Regions from separate parts of the Homo sapiens genome. Here all the other regions are linked to region 2. Evidence: promoter capture Hi-C in 16 types of primary human blood cells and fetal thymus (Javierre and others, 2016). All regions are on one chromosome and are shown on one strand. Each heading gives the region's core, a stretch centred on a gene start or on the middle of the fragment in contact. The rest is flanking DNA. Distances are from core to core; before and after follow the strand shown. Region 1 overlaps TLL1 (tolloid like 1). Region 2 holds the start of TLL1 (tolloid like 1). Region 3 has its middle 30 kb from the start of LINC01179. Region 4 has its middle 49 kb from the start of LINC01179. Region 5 has its middle 250 kb from the start of TLL1.

Region 1 (4,923 bases), core at 1,673-4,172, 230 kb before region 2:
TGATACTTGACATGATACAATAAAAATTAATTTTCACGTTGAAGACCTAGTTATGACAACATCTCTATATGCCTTCTAAATACCTAATTTCTCAGTTGTGCAGAGCATAGCTCACTATGGCCTAATAAGATGTCAATCAGAATATCCAGAATATTTCTTAATATAGAGCAATACATTTCCCCTACCACATCAGGCAAAATAATTTAATATATTTATTTTCACAAAAGGCTCATACTAACTCCAAACTATAGGGTTTTTTAAATTTCTAGTACTAATTCTGATTCTTAAAGATAGCTATCATTGGTATTCTAAATTTCATGCTGTTCTTAAAAAGAGCAAAATGCTTATCCTGTAAGTTTTACTCTAATTCACCCCTAAAATTTACTTTATGTGGGAAAGTTTCACCATAAAAAATCTACTATTTATATAGGTCGAGATTGATTCTACTACCTTTGTAGAACAAGCAGAGGCTCATTTGTATAAGATAAACTGGGTTTCAACATCTAACTTTACACTGTGACTCTGGGAAGGTTACATAAATTCTTTGAGCCTCACTTTCTGAACTACAAAACGAGAACATGATGACAGTCCTCAAAGTGTAGCATGGAATTTAAAAAGAGCTAGTGCACATTCCTAGCACACGGGTAGGAGTAGTATAGAACAGTATAGGTGTTAATGTTAATGACTTTTTCTCCTCTCTTTCCCATTTCTGGCATATTTTGGCTAACGGGAGATTAGTGAGAAAATATGGAAGAAGTTACTGGAATAAATCAGCTCTACTAAAAGGCTCATCTACATTGCAGGCAATAGTTATACATTTTCAAAGTAACATTCAATAAGATCAAAACATTGGTTATAAAAATGTATTTACATTTTACAATTCATATGCAAGAAATTTTTTCAGGGCAACAATTTAAGAAAAAAACAGATAAGCTACATCTGTGTGTATACTTTAATTGTGTAAAACTGAAAGAATACACCCAATTGTATTCAATGTTGTATGCTCATGGACAGGTAACAGACACAAAGCTACTTCATACAGTAATCTATATTGACATCAAAATAGAGTTTCTCTAAAGGAAAGAGCCTTTTTTTAATGGGATTGATCAAAATTAGAAGTTCCCATTATTTGTCCATGAAACCTAAGGAAGGTGCTATTTCAAATGGAATTCTAGTAGAACTTGGCACATACATTTTAACTTTTCAACCACCCATTATTTTTTACCTCTTGTAGTTTCACTCACTCAGACAATCACACATCTACATTCATTAATTTTAAAAACACACATGCCTTTAAAGCAGAAAATTCATCCTCAAATTACATTTTCTACAAAAAAAGCAGGACACCATATTTATATCCAATGCTTCAGTCATGGAAATGGATTTTCTTCATAGAGCTGTTAATTAACATACACTATTATGTTCAACATTTCAAAAGGTGTGTTTTAGGAGGATCTGTTTGATCATGTGCAGGAATTCTAAGGCATTATAAGTAGTTGTTCCACAGGACAAGTGCTGCCCTTGCAATGATATACTCTTGATATATTTGACAAGTCTTTAGTCTTCAAATGCTACCAGCCATAGGGAGACATTCGTAGTCTACGGGTGGGTTGGCTCAAAGGTCAAAAACTTGTTTGAAAAAAAGTTTATGGAATAGCACCATAAGAAGTCTTTCAGAAACAAATCTTTTTTTTCCAGCATTGTGTTTTGAAAAAATGAATCCCAGGAAGAGAAAAATGAAAGAGACCTTTCAGTTCTCACAAGGCCTACTTCTGCTTCATTTCAATTTTAAAAAATAGATTAACCATGACAACATCAACAATAATAATACAACAATAACAGATCGACAACAAAGGAAAGACAATAGCAGCAGCAGTAACTTGAGTAATGAACCATCCAGACAGTCATTCAGAAGAATCCTGCTCACACCTCTTCGGAGTTTTCTCATAAGGTTCATAAGACATCACAGGCTTCTTGGATTTGGTGTGAAAAGGCAGCACTTCCAAAAAAAAGAACTAAGTTTACCAATTCACTGGGCGTTTTCTGAGACTTAAAGAACTGATGTCTAGAATTTAACTGCAATAATTAGACACCATTGAGATTTCAAACTCATCTAAATGTAAGTACACTAAAGTGGTCTCAAGATCATTTGTGTTTCAGAGGTTAAGCTGGCCTGCAAGTGGAAATAATGAAGCTGAAATATCCCAGTTTCCAAACACCAGACACACACATACACATGGAAAGTACAAATCACCCTCAGAAGACTCCCATTTCACATTCACCTTATATGGATCTGGTTTACACTGTATCCAAGATACAAAGTCAGCAATTATCCTAAGACAACCAAAATACTGTTTTCCAGTTTACGACCTGCAAGATCATTTTATGTCCCTAAATCTTGACAAATTGTCAAAAAGAACACTGCAGGGTCACAGTTCCTGAATTAAACTGTCTGAATTGTGAGGCATCTATTTCAAGCTGTGAACAAAAGCTTGTAGAGTCTTCCTTGAAGTATATGATGCCCTTTCACCAGCTTTATTAATACCATCAAGCATGGAGTTCAAATATCCTTGTAATGCTGATGAGGGTTTTGCTGGAAACTTCTCTTTTAGTACAAAGATAATTCTGGTCTTACAGGGATTTTTTGTTCAAACTCTTTGTATAAAACATTTGTGCCAATATCTTCAGTTTTAAAAAAAATATGTCTTCTCTCCATTATGCACATTCCTTTGTGTTCTGACAGAGGTTTTGGTGTTATTTTTTGGTATGTGTGGTATCTGGATATCTTATGCTTTTGTATCTTATATGAAATCCCTTCTTGTTGATTGTGTCATCAGTGTGGAAATGAATTAAAACTGAATCTCCAATTGAATAAATCTCTTCTGGTGGCTGAAGGAAAACAAAAACAACAAGCAAGTAAACAAGCAATAAAACGAATCACTTTTTCTTCAGTGTAACGCATGTTTGGGAATACTTGTCTTTGGAATATAATTTAATCCTCCCAACAACCTTGGAGAGTAGGTGTAATCAACTTCTTCACTTTATAGAGGAGAAAATGGGATTCGGAGAAGAAAATGACATGCTAGAGCTCACGCGACTAGTCGGTGATGTAGCTGAGCTCTGAACATACGTTACATTTTCTAAGTTCTGGGCACTTTTCTCTCTAGAACTTGAGTGTTTTTCCCTAAACTTTTAAGCCAAGTTCTCTTGATTTACAAATCAGTAAAGTGAGGTTCAGAGAGTGTAAAGAGATACTAAATGTGTTTCAGAAGCTGCTCTGGAGCAGAGCCACTTCCAAAATCCAAATTGTCCATTATTTCTTGTTTTAATACTCTAAGCATCAAGAAGCTTTTTCATTATATTTCAGTTGTCATTTGGGCAGGAGTTCAACAGTATTACTGAAGCAATAGCTACTGGTAGACGTTTGAAAAACTGGGACTACTATCTTCAGGACAAAATATGTATTCAGAAGACTATAAATATATAAATATTAATGCAGTGAATCCTGGAGGAAAAGCACTGAGAAAACCTTATGTTTTTCTTTTCCTTATTTCTCATGGTGACGTCTTCTGACCTGTACCTGCACTCTGCACCTGCACAAGTGACACTCTGCAATGGAACAGTGTCTCTGTAGCACTGCCTGTGTACACACACCAGTGGCTGACCCTGCCACCGCCTCCAAATATATTTGTTAAAAAGAGAATGTGAATTAGAATGGTGTGCATATTATTTTTTTCCTTTATGCTTTAATTCAGAAACGTGACAGAATTGTCTATGGTGTGTGTGTAAATATGCTGCTGTTAGATTAAGTATTTAAATATTTATTGCATAATAAGAAGTTAGAACAATGGAAAAGTGACAAGAAATTATACCTACTGATTTCATCGGTTTCACCTGATATTATTCAGGCAAATTCATTAGAAGTGGAGAAGTGATAAGGGTAGAGACGTGTTATATTTTGTCAAGCCATTTATAATACAATGTAGCCTTTTTTTTTTTTTTTTGCAAAAAGCATTGCCAACTTGTGAATGGTACACATATCAATCATGAATCAATAGGCATCTTTAATCATGTCTAGGGTATTCTGTTGGTGGTATATTTACCCCGGATCCACAGAATCGACCAAGCCCCACAGCTGTTGAATCAAGACCATCAAAGAGCTCCACATAGTCATAGCCACAGTCTGCTTCTTCCTCCACTTCAAATGTCTGGAAGGATAATTCAAGTCGAGAGCCCCGTTCTGATACTAATAGCCATTCACAGTCAACCTGTCCTGGGTAGTTGTTATCACCAAACTGAGCATGTGAGTACAGATCTCTTGGTTTTGATTCTGCTTTCAATCGTCCGCCACACTCTGCCCAGGAAAGAAAAATAAGATGAGTAAGGTCAATGAGCTTTAACGGGTCCAATTTAAATTTCAGTGTAGTTTCAGTGTAGCCTAGCCATTGTCTAACTTCTGTTTCTACTTCCAGCGTCAGATATGTTTTCCACAACTGGAGAGTCAGATAGTGTCATGGGTGTCCACCCAGGCCCCAGACATGGACGACCTGGGTTGGAATCTCAGTCCCAGTGCCTGCTGGCTCTGTGACTCTGGGTAAGTGATGTCTTTGAGCCATATTTTTCTCAAGGGTAAAATACAGATGAAAATAATGGTACCAATTTTAGTGAGGTCTGAGAATTTAAAACATGAAAATCACTTAGAATCTACCACTTAGTAACTCAATAATTTTTAAAATTGTTCTACCTAATACTGTCTCTAGTCTCAAATAACTATTTTCATAAAGAAGATGCCAGAGTATTAACTCAAGTTTAATCGTAACAATTTAAGAACCCCAAATGCAAAGAAGTAAGAAGTAACTTAAAATTCAACAATAGATATAAAACTCCTCTGCGTGTGTTTGTGTTATATAGAACTTTCTATAT
Region 2 (5,099 bases), core at 86-2,585:
GTAAAAGAGGGAGCCAAGGTGTCTCCAGGTAGCAATGCCATCCTCCTGTATCTTTTGGGGAACCCTGCCAACTCGCTCTCGAACAAGCGCTGGGAAACCGCGCCCTGGGGGAGAGGGGAAAGAAGACGGTGTCCCTTCCATATGCATAAAGCCCGCTGAGTGTTGGAATTTAAAACCTACAGCAGCAAGCTATATTTACGACTTGTTTCGTTTTGCTGGGGGAGGGGAGAGGGATCAGAAACTCTAGGACCTTATTCCCAAACTGGGAGATGGGAGCTTGGCAGTGGATCCCACTGGCACAGAACTCTAGTCAACTGGGGCCGCAGCGGCTGCCACTTGCGGGTGGGGAAGGGAAGGAAAAGGAGGGGGAGAGAAGGAGGGGCGGCGGAGGGGCTGACGCGGGAGGGAAGGAAACAGGTGAGCTCCCACCGCCACCCATGGGAAACCCAGCGCAGCGGCCCCCGGCGCGCCACCGTCCCAACCTGGAGAGCCACTTACCGGCTTTACACGGGTCCTTGTAATCTATAGTCTCTGTTTTATCCTCTTCGTTCCCATCAAAAGTGTAATCATAATCGAGGCCAGCGCAGACCCATAGCTCCCCGTAGAAAACAATCCCCGAGGCCACCAGCCACACGAGCATCCTCGGGGAAAGCGTTCCCAACCCCATCCTCCTCCCCCGGAGGAAAAGGAGGGGACGGGACCCAGAGGTTAGGCAGCCGCGGTCCGCGCTGATGTGCGGGGCTAGGGGCACCGGTGCTCTTCTCCCCACCCGGAGGCTCCTCGGCGGGACCGGGGTGCTCAGGTGTCCGGAAACATGTGGATGCCGCCGGGACAGTAGAGAGGGCAAGCACTGCCTGTTACCCCCAGTCGCAGGGAGAAGTTGGCTAGGGGCCCACGGGTGGGCGGAGGGCAGGTAAGGAACTCTGCACTCGGAGGCGGGGAGGGCGCAGGCAAACTCGGCTCTGGCGGCGCTGGCGCTCGCAGCCTGCCAGGTCGTCCTTCTGGCTGCCGAACTTCCCGCGGCCGCGGCTCGGCGAGCGGCGCCCCGCGGGCTCAGCTGCCACCAGAGCTCGGACTCCCGCGCCGCGTCCCCGCTGCTGCCAGGACTCCGCGGCCGAGCGCGAGCCGCCGCCGCCTGAGCCCAAAGCCGCCGCCGCAGCTCCGAGAAGATGAATCCGGTCTGCACATCAGCACATCTGAATTGAAAGGGGAGACCGAGGAAGGGGGTGGGGGCCAGGCATTTCTACGCCGCGAGACCTTAAAAGCCTGCAGAAGCCAGCAAAGCAACTGACTGCAAGAGAGCAAAAGTGTGAGGATTTGGGGATGCACTGTTTGCCTTCCCCCCGCCAGCCTGTCTTTTTACCCTCTTCCTAACTTGAAAAAAAAAAATATTCGCACCATCTAACCCAATCACTTGCATCCTGCTTACTTATTCATACAATCAGGGTCAGGATCCGGACCACAGCCTCCTCTCTTGACTTCTTTTGATAGCCTTAGACAAACAAACAGACAGGAGCGCGCTGACAATTCCATTTATATTTTACCAAAGATAAAAATGAATATATTATGTATCTGTGTACGCAAACAGCAATTAATAGATGATGTACGTGTCAGTTGAGAGTGCCAGACCGGGGGTGGAGCGAAGGATCGTGATAACTTAGCTGCAAATCCATATTTCCCCTCCCCCCAAATAAACAGCGAGTGTGTATTTCTTTCCTTTGCTGCTGTTTAACCTTAGAGCAGCGCAGGAATGGAGGAAAAGTGTGCGAGTCTTCACGATTTTGGTAAGAAAATAAACAGACTACTGTTGGTCTCCTAACCAACAAAGTTTTGCTAAGAACTAAGATCCTCAGAACTGCAATTAAAAAAAAAATCCAAAATCGAGTTACAGATTGCAGCAGCAGGAAACGCTGAGACCTTGCCGATGGGCTGGCGCTATGGCTCACGTGGGCGCAGGAAGGGAAGCTGGATGGAATACTCGGGAAGCAAATTTTCTGTGACAGTTCTGGCGCCCATGAGCAGAGTTGCTCAGTATCCTTCGGCTTCAGTAATGTTTTACTTCTTCAGAGGAGAGGGTGTAAAACCTGGCAGGAGGGTCAGCGAGGTAAACCACATGTCAGCCGAGCAGACTCAAGACAAACACAGGTTGTGGGAAATTGGGGAGGAAAAAAATCAGAGGAAATCTCTGTAAAACCCCTGTTGTGAGCAATTCCGAGGTTTCCCCACATCTGCAAGTAGTTTCCAAAATAGGTGAGATGACTTCTCCCCCAACAAGCTTCCAAGGGACTGGTGATTGGGAGCTTTCCTTTTCCAACTAAATCTTTAAAACTGTCACTTTAGCAAGGACTTGTAAAAAAAAAAAAAGCCTTACATATTATTTGACTAGTGTTCCCCCTATCCAAGTTATCATCTAGAGGAATGTATGAAGGTAAACACACACACACACACACACACACACACACACACACACACACAACTTTGACAGATAAAGTCATCTTTGGTTTGGAGATTTTACTAGGTTTTATTCATGTTTGTTAGAGAAAAGTAAGAAGCCAATCTTGAAAAAGTACCAAGTATTTTCAACTTAAACTAAAAGTATAGGAAGGCTAGGTGGAACTGAACTGACCAAGTGTTCTTTGCAAAACTGGGTCTTTCTCAGAGGCCACTGCAATGATGGAGCTTCCCTTCCATAGATCTTAAGCTTTTAATGCCCAGGATACAGAGCAGAAGTAGATTTTTAAAAAGAACATGTTCAATAAGCAGGTAGAGGCGTTTGATTTTGAAATCTCTTGCTGAGTCATTCTCAAATTCTCTTACCCATCCAAAAAAAAAAAAGTTTGCATAATTAATAATAGTGTTGCCCTAGTGCAGAGCTCAACAAGAATATGTCCTGCTTAGCCCATCTGAAAGCCTAGAGAATGCATATGTCATCTAGAGGATTCCTGCTCTTGAGCTGCTGACAGTGTTCCCATTCCCTATCCCAAACCTTAAAAATGTCCCTTGTTAATCTAAATGCCTGCAAACATCTCCTTAGACTATTTTATCATGTGTAAATTTGCAAGAAGTTTTACCTGTGGTTTGCCTAAACATCACTTACTTTGCAGGAATAAATATGTTTTATTCATTTGTTCTGGGAAAAAAAGTACTGTATAGGGATAATAGCTTCATTATGTATAATGACACCTATTACTTTTAACATGTGTTTCATTATTTGGTTTTATAATTTTATGAATTTGTAGTCCAGAGAGTTAGAATGATTTTCATAGTAGAACTTCAAGTCAAAATACAGGAATGTTTCTTTACAGCTAATATACTTGCAGAGAATACCTACATCACAATACCCAGGCTTAATCCCTGATTTATTTTTAAATATTAAATCTAACTCTAGGTTGTAATAAGAAACTTCATTTTTTTAAACTAATTTTGTCTCTATAGTTGTTATGATTACAAACTAAAAATAGATTTTTCCTTGTCCATGAAAGAAACATAAATTTGCAAGAATATGTATGTGAGCAAGGAGTTGATTGCTGTGTCATAGTATAGCTGCAGACACGCAGTACGTGAATTCAATCTCCTCAGAAAGACAAAAAGGAGAAATTGATTCCCTTAGTAAGACATGTGCTGATGTTGCCCTGGCTTCTAGCTGACAAGCTCTCTTGATCACCATTGCCACCTACAACAGGACCCCATCACTCTCAGCAATAATAGGGAATGAAGCCAACCAAGAGTGCTGCAAAAGGCAAGCTCTATGCCAATTAGTATATCACGTTGGAAATACCAATTAAAATAAATTTCCCTTGTAGAAAATATCAATTAGACATGTACTCTTTCTAATCTAGATTTGTGCAAAGCTAGATGTGATCTTTTTGTGTTATAAGACCAAGTAATACATGAATGAATATATTTCCCTTTTGTCCCTTGTGAAAAAAAATACCCAGGGGATAAAAGGAGCTTTCCTTCTGCAATGGATTCCGGATTATAATCTGAATAGGGGCCCCTAAACAGAATCTCTGGTTATTCTTTAATAGTTTACTGTACTAGTCTTTCTCTCTACCATGCCCTCACTGGCCCTCACTGTGGGGAACAGAGATGTCCTTTGTTTTTATGGCTTTTAGCTACTCCAGACCATTTAACTCTTATTTTCACCCCATTCTGATGTGACCCTCTACTGGATAGATACAGCTTTATTTCATGAGCTTTCTTTCAGTTCTACATGGCATCTCCTAATAGTAGAGTTCAGTGTCCCAAAGTGTGGTACTTAAATTGCTGAGAGTACATGAAGTGATTTTAGGTAATGTAGTAATAAACTACATATAGATGTGTATATGTATCAGAAAAAAATAGTTATTAAATTTGCCATTGCATATATAGTTCTTACAATCATGCTTAAGCTAAAAACCAAGGCACTTGCTTTGTGAAATTAAGCCAGTGATGAAGGTAGCAGGTGAAGGTTGACTAATGTTTGATAAACACTGATCTAGTTCAGCTCCCGTCCTCTGCTACACCACACTGCCTGTGGGTTCCTGCCATTTGCCTCCTCCATCACACCTGTCCCACAGTTGCTTCCTTCTCGTACCTGCTTATCAGTCATTTTCACTTCCAGTCCTTCAATACAAAAGGTCTGAGTCTGGACGGGGAAGCTGCATGTATTCATTGTTGGCACTTTGGATTTGTTTGCTGTTTTAGGCATCACTTGCTGTATCACTCTTCAGAATATCCACTGACTTGTGTATTAAAAAAACATATATAATTGCTTAATGACATCCAGAAATGATTGCATTCTTCCTTTGGGCAACAGCTTGGCCAAAGTGAAATGGGGGCAGTGGAATGGAATAAGAAGGAGGTCTTCTTATTTCCAACCTAATGGGACTCAAAGGCTTGAGTCCACTAGTAGGTTTCCAATTATGTAACCTCTGCTCCTTTACTGAATCCTCACTGTTGTACCCTGAACACCTAGTTAAGGAGGCACAAGAGTATAGAGCTTGGAAACAGTCCCTCAGTGCAATTTCCAGCTCTCTACTTCCTAGCTTGGTAACTTTGTACCTGCTTTTGTAACCTCAAGTGTCCTCAGTTTTCTCATTCATAAAACGCAGATAATT
Region 3 (4,880 bases), core at 15-2,514, 220 kb after region 2:
ATCCTGCAGCATGCACTGTTCATCATGCCCATCCTCCACCCTTCTTATTAGTTACTTGAATGTCTACATGTTATCTCTAAACCCTAATTCCTATTATTTCTTTTTTGAAGGTTGCTCTTAGAGAGTTTCACAACCGTGAATAGGTTTCAACTTTTTCTGACATTCTCTATTTTTTTTTTCCAGATCAATGAAACAAGAACAAAGAGGAGAATCAGGAAGTCAGCAGTATGTCTCCTTTATTCCCCCATGCTTTAGAGTAAGTCTTTCTTTGGTAACCCAGGGTATTTACTAGCTTCTTATTAGGTTCAAAAGCCATACAGCAAGGGATTGCAGTCTGCCCTGCACACAAAGTGTAGACAAATGTACCAGCTTAAGAAAAGTCCATAGCTCCAGCCTTGTGTGACTAGAATTTATGATCCTTAGTTTCTGTTGCTTTTATCTACATTTGACAATCAGACCCTAGAAGGAAGGGTCATTTGACATGAAGATGTAGTAAGTGGTTTATATAGTCATTATGCCCAAGGAAAGGAAGCATTATCTTTATCTTCCTAATAAAAAAAAATACACAAAGATTGATTATTCATTTTATTGGATAAATTATTTTTTTAACTTTTACAAGGACATGGTAATTTCCTGTACTTTATAAAAGGTTTAAAGCTTGCCAATACAGATAATATGGTATTTACTGTATCTAATTTTAAAAAGGTATGAAATGCATATTTTACTTTCTAGAACTAACTACCAAAGTATATTGATGTCCATATGCTGACTTGTAGGGTAGGCTCACTCAATGAGTGTTCTTTCTTTCAGAAAAAAAAATCTTTGGAAGTGTCATTGGTGGTCATGTTTGTTCAGATAGCACTAATTAGTCCCCAGAGCTGTAGAAAATTAAGACAGGTGTAAATACCTGACCTCGGTTTGATCACTTAGATTCTTTTCCATAGGAGTTTGGAATTGAAATTAAGGGAAAATAATTTCCTTAGCTTATACTGCAACTGAATCTTTAAACTTGGATGATATGGGACAACCATGTTTTCAGAGAAAATCATGCTACAGGGAGAGAGAGAGTTTGAAGCACATATATAGATGAAAACAGAGACGCAAAGCCCTGTGGTCAGAGTTAGAGGGGCTGAGAGAATAGCTACCTTAACTTCTGTTTTCTTGCTCTTGATTCCAAGGACTTAGTGTTATGAATAACCTCTAAATTTTCATATTTACTTTTCACTTCTATGCTTACTTAGAAGGGATTATGTAATTGTTTATTTATAACCAAAGGGACACCAAGGTTTACAGCTGCAGAAGTGATAGTATTTTTCATTTTGTATTTTGTATTTTTCAATTCAAGGATTTCCGTTTGGTTCTTTTATATGGTTTCCTTTTCTCTGCTGAGATTACCTTTTTGTTCCCTTATTATATTCGTGTTGCCTTTAATTCTTTGAACATATTTACAATAGCTATTCTCTAGTCCTTGTGTGCTAAATCCATCATTTCCATAATGCTGAATCTCTGTTTTTTTACTACTTTTTCTCCTGGCTATGGACCACTTTTTTTTTTCTTTTTCTTCCTCCTCTTCTTTACATATCTAGTAATTTCTATTGTGTGCTGGACATTATGAGTACTGCCTTTTTGCATGTCTGAATTTTGTTGTCTTCCTTAAAACTTTTGTTTTGTTCTGGTAGGCAGTTCATTCATGTGTAGCTCTGCTCAATCCTTTCAAGGCTTGTTTTCAAACATTGTTAGCATGGTCTAGAGTTGCCTTTACTCTAGGGATACGTTAGCCCTATTCCTAAGTGATGGCTGCCTGAAACTTCTACTGAAATCCCAAGTGTCTCCTGATATTCCTCCATCCAGTTAGTTGAAATTAAAGCTTGCAATAGCTTCCAGCCCTTTGCAAGCTATTGAAGTTGCTGTGTTCTTAGCTCTCTGGTAGGTTTTCTATTTATTTATTTATTTATTTATTGCCTATTCCTGTGGAGTCTTGCCCTGAGAATGTGTAATTTAGATTTCAGGAATTCCTTCTTTTTGCAGTGTTCTCCTCTCTGGTAACTTTCTTCATACATCCCAGCTGTTTCACTAGCCCAAACTCTGATCTCTGCACTTCAACTCAGCAAACACTCTGCGCTTTATTTGAGTTCTGCATGCTTGCACAGTAGATTAGAAAGGATCTCCAAACAGAAAGTCAGGGACACCATACAGCTTGCCTCGTATACTGCCCACCACTGGGAATCACTCTCTTACACCTTTAATCACAAGGCTGAAAGCAATAATTTTATATATTTTGTCCTATTTTATAGTCATTTAAGCTGGGTGGCTAGTTTAGGACCAGCTGGCCTATTGCAGAGAGCATCTAAATATACATATTATAAACTTGCTTCTTAAAATTAATTTTATCTACAATGAGTTTATGTGCTTACTACATAATTTGTTTACTATCTTGCTTATTAGTTAAGTTTCTTCATGAATTTTAGAATTCTGTTTATGGGCTTAGTTTGGATCAGAGAATTTCTATAACTTTGATCTTATATGTGTTTCATCTATGCTTCTTCCACCCAACCCAAGGGATGTCTCTCTAGTAGCAGGTCTTGTAGTGGTATTTTGGGTCACCTATCCTACAGCCATTTGTGAGATCTGGACACAGAGCATGTGGGCATCTTTGTTTATTCATGATCACAGGGTCTCTGTGGGTCCTCTAAGTCTATGGCTTACTAAAATCTGTAGCCATAGAAGCTATGAGAAACCGTGATCATTTTCAAAGGCTTCTTTCATACAAGTAGAGCCCTCCTATTTGCAGAATTCTAGCATATAAAGTCCTCATCCCTGTTCACTTTACCCTGTGGGAACAGAGTTCAAAACTACTCCTACAGGTTTGTGTATCCAAAGCCCAATAGGTCAGCCCTCCTATCATTGGTCAATAATAAGATTTATCTGTTTAGTTTTGGGTTAACTCTTTTTAAATTTATCTATCATTGCTATGTGTTTAGAGCAATGCATGAAATTACTGAGCTGTCTTGACCAGAATACATCTCTAACTACAAATCAGATTTCTTTCCCTGAAGTTTCCACAATTTGAATATAAGACAGACCAAATAGTTCTGATTTTATGGAGTAAAAGCATTATATAAGTATGTCAGAAAAAATAATAAAGTGTCAGATGGCATACCCTCATCAGAAAGTAATACCCCGTATTATAGAAGGAACAGAATCATCATATGAATTATAACTAAAATGTTTTTAAAACTCCAACTTGTCTCCTTTTATTGTGTACAGATAATGAACTAATATCAGTTTTAAAATAAAGTGTTAGAACTACTGTTATATTACATATGCTTCAGACATGATTAGCCACAAATTTTTAAATCCCTCCTTGTTTATATATTCCTATGGTATAAAATACTAGAATTTAAGTAGGTACTCTGTAATGTTCCTTCCATCTCTCTTTTATTCTCTATGTAAACTTATTGTCTCAATAGAAAATTGACACAATATTATAGCCTCTTAGTTTATTACTATTAGACAAACTATTCGAGAAAGATTCACTGAACAAGTTAAGACACTCAAATCACAAAGCTTATTGAATCAACTTAAAGCACTTAGGACATCATGCAAGTGGAATATAATGGCCACACTACCTGAGTCCTTGGTCAGGCAATGTTTATGTATCCTGTCTTCTCTCTTTTTCTCTCTCTCTCTTCCTGATCTCTTGCCTCCCTGCAACCTCAGCACACAGCCAGTGTGATTATAAAGGCCATAATTGAGATTGAACAAGTTGGCTTAGCAGATAAGAGGTGCCTGGAGTAAACACTCTTTTTCTATTCAAAAGACACAAGAGCAAGTATACTTGCCATAGCTCAAACTCACCAATAACTAGCTGAGCAGCCATAACTTTGATCCATTTGTTTTGGGAAAGTATATATGGGGCCAGAATGGATGCCACCAACAGGTGCACAAAGTGATAAAACCTGAAAATCATAAATATTCAGTGACTTTATTGGTTCTTCCCTTCTTTGTACCTATCTTCAACACGTATGCTCTCTTTACTAATTCCATTCATTTAATCTATGTCTAGCATGCCTCAGAGTCTATTTTTACTTACAATCAATCCTGAGTATTTTAGTCCATTTGAGCTGCTATAACAGAATACCATAGATTAGGTGGCCTATGAAAAACAGAAATTTATTTTCCACAGTTCTGTATGATGGGAAGTCTAAGATCAAGTCACCAGCAGATTTGGCTCCTGGTGAGGGACTTCTTCCTAGTACATAGAAGGCCATGTCCTCACTATAACCTCACATGGCACACGGGGTGATTGAGCTCCCGCATGCCTCCTTTATAAGGTCCCTGTTCCCATTCATGAGGACTCTGTCCTAATCATCCATGACCTAATCGCCTCCAAAGACCTGACCTTCTAATAGCATCACTTTACTGTCAGGACTTCAACACATGAATTTGGAGGAGGATGAAAATATTCAAATCAAATCACTAAATTTTATTTATCTGTTTATCTTATTGTTTACAGCAAATTTGAATTTTTTTAAATATTCATTAAACATATGTTTTCTAAAGTTGTAACGATATCTAGTAATTTTCTCATACTGATTATGTCAGGCACTTGACTACTTTATCACATACCAATAGAAACCCTTTGTTGCCTGTCTGAGAAGCCAACTTCTTCCATAGAAACAGAAGGTGTTTGAGTATTGGCCCACCATGTACCTTCTGGTGCTGGACTCTGCTCCAGTTATGGGGACAGTATCATGACTAGTTCCAGCTCATTGAGATAATCTCATTCCCCTTGCCAGGGATTGGCATTTGAAACAGTCCTGGACAATGAGACCAGTGGGGACATCTGTTGTGGGGATTCTGGGGAAGGTTTTCCTCAC
Region 4 (5,055 bases), core at 2,340-4,839, 240 kb after region 2:
GTTGACTTTCTGTCTTGATAACCTCTTTAGTGCTGCTAGTGGAATATTTAAGTCCCCCACTATTATTTTGTTGCTATCTATCTCATTTCTTAGGTTTGGTAGCAATTGTTTTATAAATTTGAAAGTTCCAGTGTTAGGTGCATATATATTTAGAATTGTGATATTTTCCTGTTGAACTAGTCCTTTTATCATTATGTAATATCCCTGTTTGTCTTTTTTAACTTCGATGCTCTAAAGTCTGTTTTGTCTAAGAATAGCTATTCCTGCTTGCTTTTGGTGTCCCTTTGCATAGAATAATTTTTTCTACCCCTTTACCTTAAGTTTATATGAGTCCTCATGTGTCAGGTGAGTCTCCTGAAGACAGCAGATATGTGGTTGGTAAATTCGTATTCATTCTGCAGTTCTGTATCTTTTAAGTGGATCATTTAGGCCATTTACATTCAAAGTTAGTATTGAGATGTGAGGTACTACTCTACTCATCACGCTGTTTGTTGCCTGAATACTTTGTGGGGGTTTTTTAAATTATGTTATTGTTTTATAGGTCCTGTGAGATTTACGCTTTAAGGAGGTTCTATTTTGGTGTATTTTGAGGATTTGTTTCAAGATTTAGAGCTACCTTTCACAGTTCTTGCAGTGTTGGCTTGGTAGTGGCAAATTCTGTCAGCATTTGTTTGTCTGAAAAAAACTGTATCTTTCCTTCATTTATGAAGGTTAGTTTGGCTTGATACAAAACTATTGGCTGATAATTGTTTGGTTTAAGGAGGCTAAAGATAGGACCCCAATCCCTTCTAGCTTGTAGGGTTTCTGCTGAGAAATCTACTATTAGTCTGATAAGCTTTCCTTTATAGGTTACCTGATGCCTTTCCCTCATAGCTCTTAACAGTCTTTCCTTCATCTGGACTTTAGATAACCTGATGACTATGGGCCTATGTGGTGGCTTTTTGTGATGAATTTCCCAGATGTTCTTTGAGCTTCTTGTATTTGGATGTCTAGATCTCTAGCGAAGCCAGGGAAGTTTTCTTCAAATATGTTTTCCAAACTTTTAGATTTCTCTTCTTCCTTGGGAACACCAGTTATTCTTAGGTTTGGTCGTTTAACATATTCCCAAACATCTTAGAGGCTTTGTTCATTTTTTAATTCTTTTTTCTTTGTCTTTGTTGGACTGAGTTATTTAGAAAGCCTTGCCTTTGAGCTCTGAAGTTCTTTCTTCTACGTGTTTGATTCTTTTGCTGAGACTTTCCAGTGTATTTTGCATTTCTCTAATTGTGTCCTTCACTTCCAGAAGTTGTGATTATTTTTATTTATGCTATCTATTTTTCTGGAGATTTTCCCAATCATATTCTGTATCTTTTTTTTATTTCTTTAAGTTGGTATTCACCTTTCTCTGGTGCCTCCTTGAGTAGCTTAATAATTGACTTTCTGAATTCTTTTTCTGGCAGTTCAGAGATTTTGTCTTGGTTTGGATCCATCAGTGGTGAGCTAGTGTGATCTTTCGGGGGACATTAAAGAACCTTGTTTTGTCATATTACCAGAATTGTTTTTTTGGTTCCTTCTCTTTTGGGTAGACTATGTCAGAGGGAAGATCCTGGACTCAAGGACTGCTGCTCAGATTCTTTTGTTCCACATGATGCTCCTTTGATGTGGTGTTCTCCCCCTTCCCCTAGCGATGGGGCCTCCTGAGAGCCGAGCTGCAGTGATTGTTATCACTCTTCTGGATCTAGCCATACAGAAGAGCTATGGGGCTCCAGGCTGGTACTGGGGAATGTCTGCAAAGAGTCCTGTGATATCATCAGGTCTCTCAGCCACATATACCAGCACCTGCTCCATTGGAGGTAGCAGGGGAGTGAAGTGGACTCTGTGAGAGTCCTTGGTTGTAGCTTTATTTAGTGTGCTTGTTTTTTGTTGGTTGGCCTCCAGCCAGGAGGTGGGGCTTTCAAGACAGCATCAGCTGCCATAGTGTAGGGTGGATATAAGCTTGCCCTAGGGTTGCCTGGATAAGTGTTAGGGTTTCTCAGATGGTGGGCAGTGCCATGGAACTCTCAACAGATTATGTCCTTTGTCTTTGGCTGCCAGGGTGGGTAGAAAAAAACATAAGGTGGGGGCAGGGTTAGGCATGTCTGAGCTCAGACTCTCCTTGTGCAGGGCTTGCTGCAGCTGCTGTGGGGGATGAGGGTGTGGCTCTCAGGCCAATGGAGTTATGTTCCCAGGGGGATTATGGCTGCCTTTGTTATGTTGTACATGGCTCCAGGGAAGTTGGGGAAAGCCAGCAGTGACAGGCCTCACCCAGCTTCCACACAGCCAGAAAGGCCAGTCTCAATCCCGCCATGCCTCCACAACAGCACCAAGTTTATTTCCAGGCAGCCAGTGAACAGGGCTGAGAACATGCCCCAGGCTATGAGCCTCCCCACTGAGAAAGCAAGCAGGGCTTTCAGGTTTCATACCTCCCCATCTGCCACAGCTTCTGTGCTTGTATCTGCACTCTCTGTTCGCTGCCTCTCCTGGATTGTGTCAAGGAAAGTTCATGTTTGGTAAAAACTGTTACAAAGTTCAGCTGGAAGTTTCCATCTACCAGTGGTATTTCCAACAAATTGACCCATTTTAAGATAGAACAAGATAATATTGAAAATGAAGCCTGAAACACCAGACCATCCACATTAAATTTGGGAGGAAAAAATTAGTCTTATTTGTCCCCTAATTGAAGAAGACCAACAATTAACAGCACAAACAATACCCAACACTATAGGCATCTCAATTGTTCAGCTTACCCAATTCTGACCAAAAAATTAAATTTGAGCAAACTTTCCAATCAGCAGTTGCCAAAACCATTGCACCCAGAATCAGCTGCCAACAATAGCTGCCATTTCAATGGAAATTTTAAATAAGTGGGATCAACATACTAAAGCATTTCCTCAAATAATTGTAACAGGAGATGACTAATTGCCACATGACTTTACCAGTATGATCCTGAAGACAAAGCACAATCAAAGCAATGGCTACCAAGAGGTGAAAATGGTCCTGTCCAGCCAAAAACAGATCAATCAGGAGCAAAGATAATGGCAACAGCTTTTCAGATACTCAAGGTATTTTGCTTATTGACTTTCCAGAGAGCCAAAAGACAATAACATTTGCTTATTATGAAAGTGTTTTGAGAAAGTTAGTCAAAGCTTTAGCAAAAAAATACCCAGGAAACTTCACCAGGAGTCTTTCTCCACCATGACACTGTTCCTGCTCATTCCCTCATCACACCAAGACAATGTGATGAGAGTTCTGATGACAAATCTTTAAGCATCCACCTTACAATCCTAATTTGGCTTGGCTCCTTCTACCTTTGTTTTCTTAAAACATCTGTAAAAGGTGCCCATTTTTTTTAGTTAATAATATGTGTGTGTGTATATATACACACATATATAAAATATACGTACATGTATATATATGATATACGTGTGTGTGTGTGTATATATATATATATATAAAAAATTTGGTTTATTTAGAAAGCCTTGTCTTTGAGCTCTGAAGTTCTTTCTTCTATCTGTTTATTCTTTTGCTAAGACTTCCCAGTGTATTTTGCATTTCTCTAAGTGTGTCCTTCATTTCCAGAAGTTGTGATTATTTTTCATTTATGCTATCTATTTCTATGAGAGTTCTGACAAGAAATCATTAAGCATCCACCTTACAATCCTGATTTGGTTCTTTCTACCTTTGTTTTCTTTCTTAATTTTAAAATATCTGTAAAAGGTGCCCATTTTTTTCAGTTAATAATAATAATATATTGGGTTATTTAGAAAGCCTGGTCTTTGAGTTCTGAATCTAAATATTGGGTTATTTAGAAAACCTTGTCTTTGAGCTCTGAAATCAGAGCTGTAGACTTTTATATATACATACAAACAAAGGTAGAAGTCATTCATATATGTATATGTATATATATATATATATGACTACATTGACATGGTTAAATTCCCAGGACTCAGTTATTTAGGGATGGAGAAAATGGCTCTTTAACTTGATGAAGCTTATGTTGAGAAACAAAGTTCATATTTTAATTTAATTTAATTTTATTTTATTTTTTAATTCAATTTTCCTTGAATATTTTGAAGCCTCCTCATATAAAATTCAATTTCCTATCATCTCAAGGTTATAGACAAAGGAATTCAAGGTAAAATAATCAAAAGTGTTATGAAAAACTTTCTTAGGTGGGCAGATAAAGGAAAACCTTACTGAGCAGAATATTACAATTTTACAGGAGTTGGCAGATCATATGCTATTTTATAGTTGTTCTTCCTACTTGTCAATATATTCTAATCAGTTTCTTTGGATTTGACCAATAAGTTTAGCCACTTTTTTTCTTTTAAGAGAGAAGAACTAAGAAGGAGTTATAAAGAGATATAACACTGACATAGGCAGAATTATTGCTTCTTCCTGATACATTTATTTTAATTCAAATTCTTTCAACTGTTATTGAAGTTAAATATGTTTCCATATATTTATTGGCCATTATTATTTATGTGTGTGTGTGTTTATATGTGTGTGTGTGAGTGTGTGTGAATTGTCTATCATGAAGTCTTTTTTGATCCCCCACCAAAAGTGATTTAATTTACTTGGAAGTTAAATAGAATTTTTTTTTGTACCTCTTTTGACACTTACTACACTTGACTTACTATTTAAAATATTTTCGTGTTTGTCTTATCTTCAGTGTGTGAATTCTTTGTGGTGTGAAATTATTTCTTTAATCTGCATTCCCTTTTTACCTAAGATAACATAATGTAGCATAAAGTGGAAGCTCATTAAGTATTTCTTGAATTATGCTGAATCATGAGTGGGTAGGGACCTGGTCTCAGATAGCCTCATCTAGTCTTTTCTAAGTCTTTAGGTATTTTTTATTTACTCTGTTTTATGAGTTTAGCAATAGTCCTTGTCCTAAGACAGTATATCGATTAAAGAAAAAATTGTCATATCATTTTTAATTTTTTGATGTTAAGCACAAGTTTATTTCAATATAATACATTATTTTCATTTCTGTCTCTTCATAAATATCTGTGCCCTTGCTATCATCATTTC
Region 5 (5,283 bases), core at 773-3,272, 250 kb before region 2:
ATTGCTTGAACCCAGGAGGCAGAGGTGGCAGTGAGCTGAGATTGTGCCACTGCACTCCAGCGTGAGAGACAGAGCAAGACTTCGTCTCAAAAAGAAAAAAAAAGAGTTACTATGCAGCCATAAAAAAGGATGAGTTCATTTCTTTTGTAGGGACATGAATGAAGCTGGAAACCATCATTCTGAGCAAACTATCACAAGGACAGAAAACCAAACACCGCATGTTCTCACTCATAGGTGGGAATGGAACAATGAGAACACTTGGACACAGGGTGGGGAACATCACACACCGGGGCCTGTTGTGGGGTATGGGGAGGGGGGAGGGATAGCATTAGGAGATATACCTAATGTAAATGACGAGTTGATGGGTGCAGCACACCAACATGGCACATGTATACATATGTAACTAACCTGCACATTGTGCACATCTACCCTAGAACTTGAGGTACAATAAAAAAAAAGAGAGTTACAAAAGATAATTAAGGTTATATTTATAAAGTAATTCAGGAGCTAGGATTAACACTGTATTAATATTGTAATACACTTTCTATTGTTTTAGCTACTTAGTATATTTTTGTCCAATTAAAACAGTTCTGTATTTACTTTCAACATCTTACCAAATGAGATAGAATTTAATGATAATGAAGTGTTTCACTCATGAAATTAATACTTACTGTAGTCATTATGGTTTTGCTTTGGTCAAGAAACATTTTATTTTACCGATGAAGCATGATTCCTAATCACCCCGCTCAGTGGAATTATATATTCGCAATTGTTTACAGACAGAAAAACTAGAAAGAGTAACTGAGTGGCACGTTCAGTATGAGTAGAAAAGGTGAGTCCTAAGTTTCAAACTGTCATTGATATTAAAGGGGGATCTGAAAAAAAGAACAGACCACACACATTTACCCAGAGTCTGCATCGCTTTCATCCTGCATGAAAATCCACAAGAATTAAGTCATTGTCCCTTAATCTAGAACAAAAATAGATAAACATGATGTTGAGTTCCCTTACTTCTTAAAGTTTAAAGAACTCACTCTCTTATGTAAAAAAAAGATGTTGAAATCTATTCAAATTTAATTTATAACTAATTTAAAGTAACACTATTATTAATGTAATAATAGTGGTCACTATACTGGATTCGACTCTTCTTGTTCATATATGAGATCTTAACTTCAGATTCAATAACAGAAAAGTTAGAATAAAATTTCCTTAGACTCCCCCAAGATTAAAATAATACATTTGTCTTATACTTACAAAACCATATTTTTCTTTATCAGCATTTTGCTCTGCTGTTTCTCTTTGCATGCAGAATGGGCCAAGAAGCTTACATTTTGGAAAATTGCCCACTGTCAGAAAACTGTTCTTACCACAATATTAATAATAGGCACAATTTTGTACACGAGGCACATGTCTTCTTTTTCCTTTCATATCCACTATGGATTTAAGTGGGTGATTTTTTTAAAAAAAGGACATTGAATTAAGGCAGAGTCCAGGAAATTGATTGTGTAAACAAAGTCTTGAGGATAGGTTCTGAAATTTGGCAGATTGTTCATAAGAGTTCAGATGAGTAGGTATATAACTACACATACCCAAGCATCAGAGAGGAAAGTGAGAAGCTGATGTTTAGAGAATTAAAGTCCCTTTAGACTTTCATGTTGGAAGTAAACACTCAAATAAAATACTTTTATTTGAAATATTTTGCAATGATTGAAATATTGTATGCTATAGTACCTTAACATTTAAGAAGAACAATAAAGCAAGGAGTTAAAATAGAAGGAAAAGAACTTTCGATGGAGAGTTGTGGGACCTTGGGCGGCTCACTTAGTAACATAGATTACCTCATCACTTCTCTTAAATGAAATGGTTGGACTGCATTATCTGTGATGTCTCTCCTACACATCTAAACTGATATAAGTTCAAAAATAAATACACTTCTGAAAAATTATTTCTGATATAAGTAGTTTGGCATACAAAATATTTATCTTATAATTCTAAGAGGTAACAGATAGAAACTGTAGGGAAATAAAATTGTAGATAAGGAGTAATTACTTAAATATGAAGATCCTAGTTGATAGTAACAACCAAAATAAAAGCTGGCTTCTTGAAATATTTGGTAATAAATCTTATCACTAGTTTTGAAATAATTATCTCATAATAAGAAAATTTTTACTGCATAATAATGCAGTAACTAAAATAAAATATCATTTATTCAATAACTATCTGTTAAACCAATATTATAAACAACTACTTTGCCACAAGGTAGGTGATAGTCTATTATTGTAGGTGCTAGAAATATAGTAGTGAAAAGATAAAAACGCCTGCAGTCATGAGTCTCACATTCTAACTACACACTCACCCACGCATACACACTCAAACATACAGTTGGGGCACAATACAACTAAGTTTCAGGAAGATGCTGCATTTAAAGAATACATTCCAAAACAACAAATATTAACTAATGCTGATATTTACTTTCAGGTCTCCCATAATATTGTATTAAAGTTCCCTTTCTCTGTTTTCTAGTTTCTTCAACACTGTTCTTATTTCTCATTCTATGAAACCTTCACTCTTGGTCCTGTATTCCAAATCATTCCATTTTCTAGCTCTGGTGAGTTTTAATTTTCTTCCTCTCTTAGGCTCTTCCAGCTGTTCTCTTGGGACAATGAATGTATTATTTTGTAAAAGTGTTGCAGTATCACACCTTCTTCATTCTCAAGCTTCTTGTTTTGATTCAACTATTGCTTGACTGGACTTTTTCCAAGAATGTTTACTAGCAGGTGCATTCAAGCTTCTTGTTTTGATTCAACTATTGCTTGACTGGACTTTTTCCAAGAATGTTTACTAGCAGGTGCATTTTCTGAGTTGTTTCATGTTTCAGAATGTGCCTATACTATATGCTATGGATTGCTACAGGTGCTGTGTGTATAACAGTGAATAAGTGGTTCCTGCTGTCTTGGATATTATCTAGATGATACTTACAGACACATTTCCATTCTCTTTTGGCATTGATGGTTATTGTGAAGATGTCTGAGACCAAATAGATTTTTCCTTTTTCATGCTTCTTGCTTTAATGAGAATGAATGCATGAATGATTATATTTTCATTCTTGTAAAATTCCATAGCTTTACTGAGGTAAGATTTAGTGTGTGCCCTTTCAGTTTACAGATTCAGTGATTTCTTCATTTCAGGGACATTTTTCGGTGATGTATCATTTAATACATCTCCCTTTTATGTAGGTTATGTATTTCCGAGACACTCATTCTTTTATGTCATATTACTGCACCTGTCTTTCCCTATTATGATCCCTTTTTACTTTAATCTTTTTTATATTTTCCCTCTGTATCATGATCATCTCAATCTTTTCCTCTACTTTAGCAATTTAATGTTCAACTGGGCCTGTTCTCCTTTTTGAGATTTCATTTGTTCTGCAGGTTGCTCTTTTGACTGTATGGCATTTTGCCAGATCATTTCTTGCTATGTTGCTCATGCTTAACTTTGAAGCTCTGTTCAGAATCTCTAATTGTTTTTATAGAGTGTGGCAGAATTTTCCCTTTTATGAGACTCCATTTCCAAATTATCTGAAAGCTGTTTGTATTCTCTGGCTATAACAGTTTGAGGGCTTAGCTTAGGTTATATTCTTTTGGGGAAAAAGGGAGAGCTGAACTGGGTCCCTTTGATTATTGGTGGGATGGGGCTCTGTCCTGTGTTCTGCAACAAAACAGCTGTCTCCTAAGGTTCATTTTCCGTAGTGAATGGTATATTCTATGTTTGGGATGGAAATAACCTTGTAATTTCTGGAGCTCCTCTCTTTTGCCTCTCTGAAGCTAACATTTCTTTATAAAATGGCACCTTTACTTTTACATAAAAAGGCAGCCCTGGTTTTACATATACCCCCTTCACCTATCTCTACAAAACTAATGTTTCCATCAACAAACAGAAGAGCAATCAAATAAGTGTTAACCTCAAGCTTGCCTCTTTCCAAAGTTGGAAACATTATTAAACATTCTTATGTCAAGTCATCACAACTGCTTGGTGCAGAAGAGGTAATGAGGTGAGGAAATATTCAAGTTTCCTGTAACTGTTTCTCCCATAAATACCATAGATTATGGATTAACACCTTTATCTTAAGTTGGGACCCTAAGCAATAAAAATTGTGATTCATAAATGTATATAGTAGCTTCTTTGAGCATGAAACTTCATTCTCTGCTGAAAGTCAGTGTATCTGGGGTCTGTGTTATGCCTGAGGGGGTCAAAAAGAATAACAAAATTCCAAAGAGACACAGATTCAGAATGTTCTTTTAGTTTTACACAGGGCTTGCATGAATGTCACTGGAGAGCTTGCCAAGTTTTTACCATGTTCTGTAAGTTGTATAGAGACAATAAACTAGAGGCTACATTAGTAACCTAGAACCTGCCTGAAAATAAGAGAGATCAGAAAGACTAACTCAATGAAAGGCAGCTACTAAGAGCTGTCACAACTGACAGTAAAGAAAGTTACTGAGAGCTGCTGCTTGCTTCAGCAGACCTTGGAATTGAGGGGAAAGGAAGAGCCAATATTTGAAATAGTTGTTAAAAGATGGCCTTTCAACTGGGAGCTCTCAAAGATGGCAGGCATCAGGGTCAGCTGACTTAACTTCATCCAATAATGGCTGAAAACATGACACCAGGAAAGACAATATACATTGTCAATTTTTTTCAAAACGTCCCTTTTTTTGGAGAGAGAACAAAATGTTTCCTCCTGTAAACTTGTGGGTTTCAAGGCTTTGTAACTCTGGATATAGTCTCAACTCAACCACAGAGATTTTGATTTTAAACCCTTCCATTGCGTCCTAATGTAGAACGTCACCTAGGAAAATAAAGTCATTTTAAAATGCAGGAGCTAATTAAATAGCTCTGTAGACGGTCATGGAGTCCATCTGTGTTAATTTGAGATGGACTTTGGAAGGTAATGCAGGTCAGTTTCCTCAGTTGTCAAAACAAGATGTCATGTATACCTCCTGTTCATCTGGAATTTAAATCACATGGATACTTCTATAATCAATACCGGTAGAAGAGCTGTACTTCAGGCACTTGTCAGAGGATGCAGCTATAAATAGGCTGTGATGCAGCACTTGCCTGAGGCTTACTGGAGAGAGCTGATATATGATAGGCACAGTCTAACGACAGGCTAGCTCTTTATTCCTCAACTTTCTCCAAACTCTTTCCCTGTATTAAGTCAAATGTCAGATTATACGTGGAAAAAAAATAAGATCTAGTTCAGATTCCTTATGATTCCCTGTAGGA

The links. The method cuts DNA at HindIII sites, captures the fragments that hold promoters and counts their contacts. A CHiCAGO score of 5 or more calls a contact.
Region 1: a contact is called between a fragment that was not itself captured here and the fragment with the promoter of TLL1 in region 2, in 1 of 17 cell types (endothelial precursors). The highest score is 6.2, in endothelial precursors.
Region 3: a fragment that was not itself captured here is called in contact with the fragment with the promoter of TLL1 in region 2 in 1 of 17 cell types (endothelial precursors); the score reaches 5.4 in endothelial precursors.
Region 4: a fragment that was not itself captured here is called in contact with the fragment with the promoter of TLL1 in region 2 in 1 of 17 cell types (endothelial precursors); the score reaches 5.6 in endothelial precursors.
Region 5: a contact is called between a fragment that was not itself captured here and the fragment with the promoter of TLL1 in region 2, in 1 of 17 cell types (endothelial precursors). The highest score is 5.2, in endothelial precursors.

Annotation. Positions count from the first base shown.
Region 1 is chr4:166,098,708-166,103,630 of GRCh38, reverse strand. It overlaps TLL1 (tolloid like 1), which reads right to left. Exons shown (of 21, transcript NM_012464.5): 20 at 4,104-4,354; 21 at 1-2,889. The coding sequence ends at 2,755. Among named protein-coding and RNA genes, the nearest start is that of TLL1, 230 kb to the right of the region's middle. The HindIII fragment of the contact is 857 bases long and covers 2,494-3,350 here.
Region 2 is chr4:165,869,473-165,874,571 of GRCh38, reverse strand. It overlaps TLL1 (tolloid like 1), which reads right to left and starts at 1,335. Exons shown (of 21, transcript NM_012464.5): 1 at 499-1,335. The coding sequence starts at 667. The HindIII fragment of the contact is 7,346 bases long and covers 1-2,277 here.
Region 3 is chr4:165,651,987-165,656,866 of GRCh38, reverse strand. No RefSeq gene overlaps it. Among named protein-coding and RNA genes, the nearest start is that of LINC01179, 30 kb to the left of the region's middle. The HindIII fragment of the contact is 1,210 bases long and covers 660-1,869 here.
Region 4 is chr4:165,632,804-165,637,858 of GRCh38, reverse strand. No RefSeq gene overlaps it. Among named protein-coding and RNA genes, the nearest start is that of LINC01179, 49 kb to the left of the region's middle. The HindIII fragment of the contact is 845 bases long and covers 3,167-4,011 here.
Region 5 is chr4:166,121,920-166,127,202 of GRCh38, reverse strand. No RefSeq gene overlaps it. Among named protein-coding and RNA genes, the nearest start is that of TLL1, 250 kb to the right of the region's middle. The HindIII fragment of the contact is 1,394 bases long and covers 1,326-2,719 here.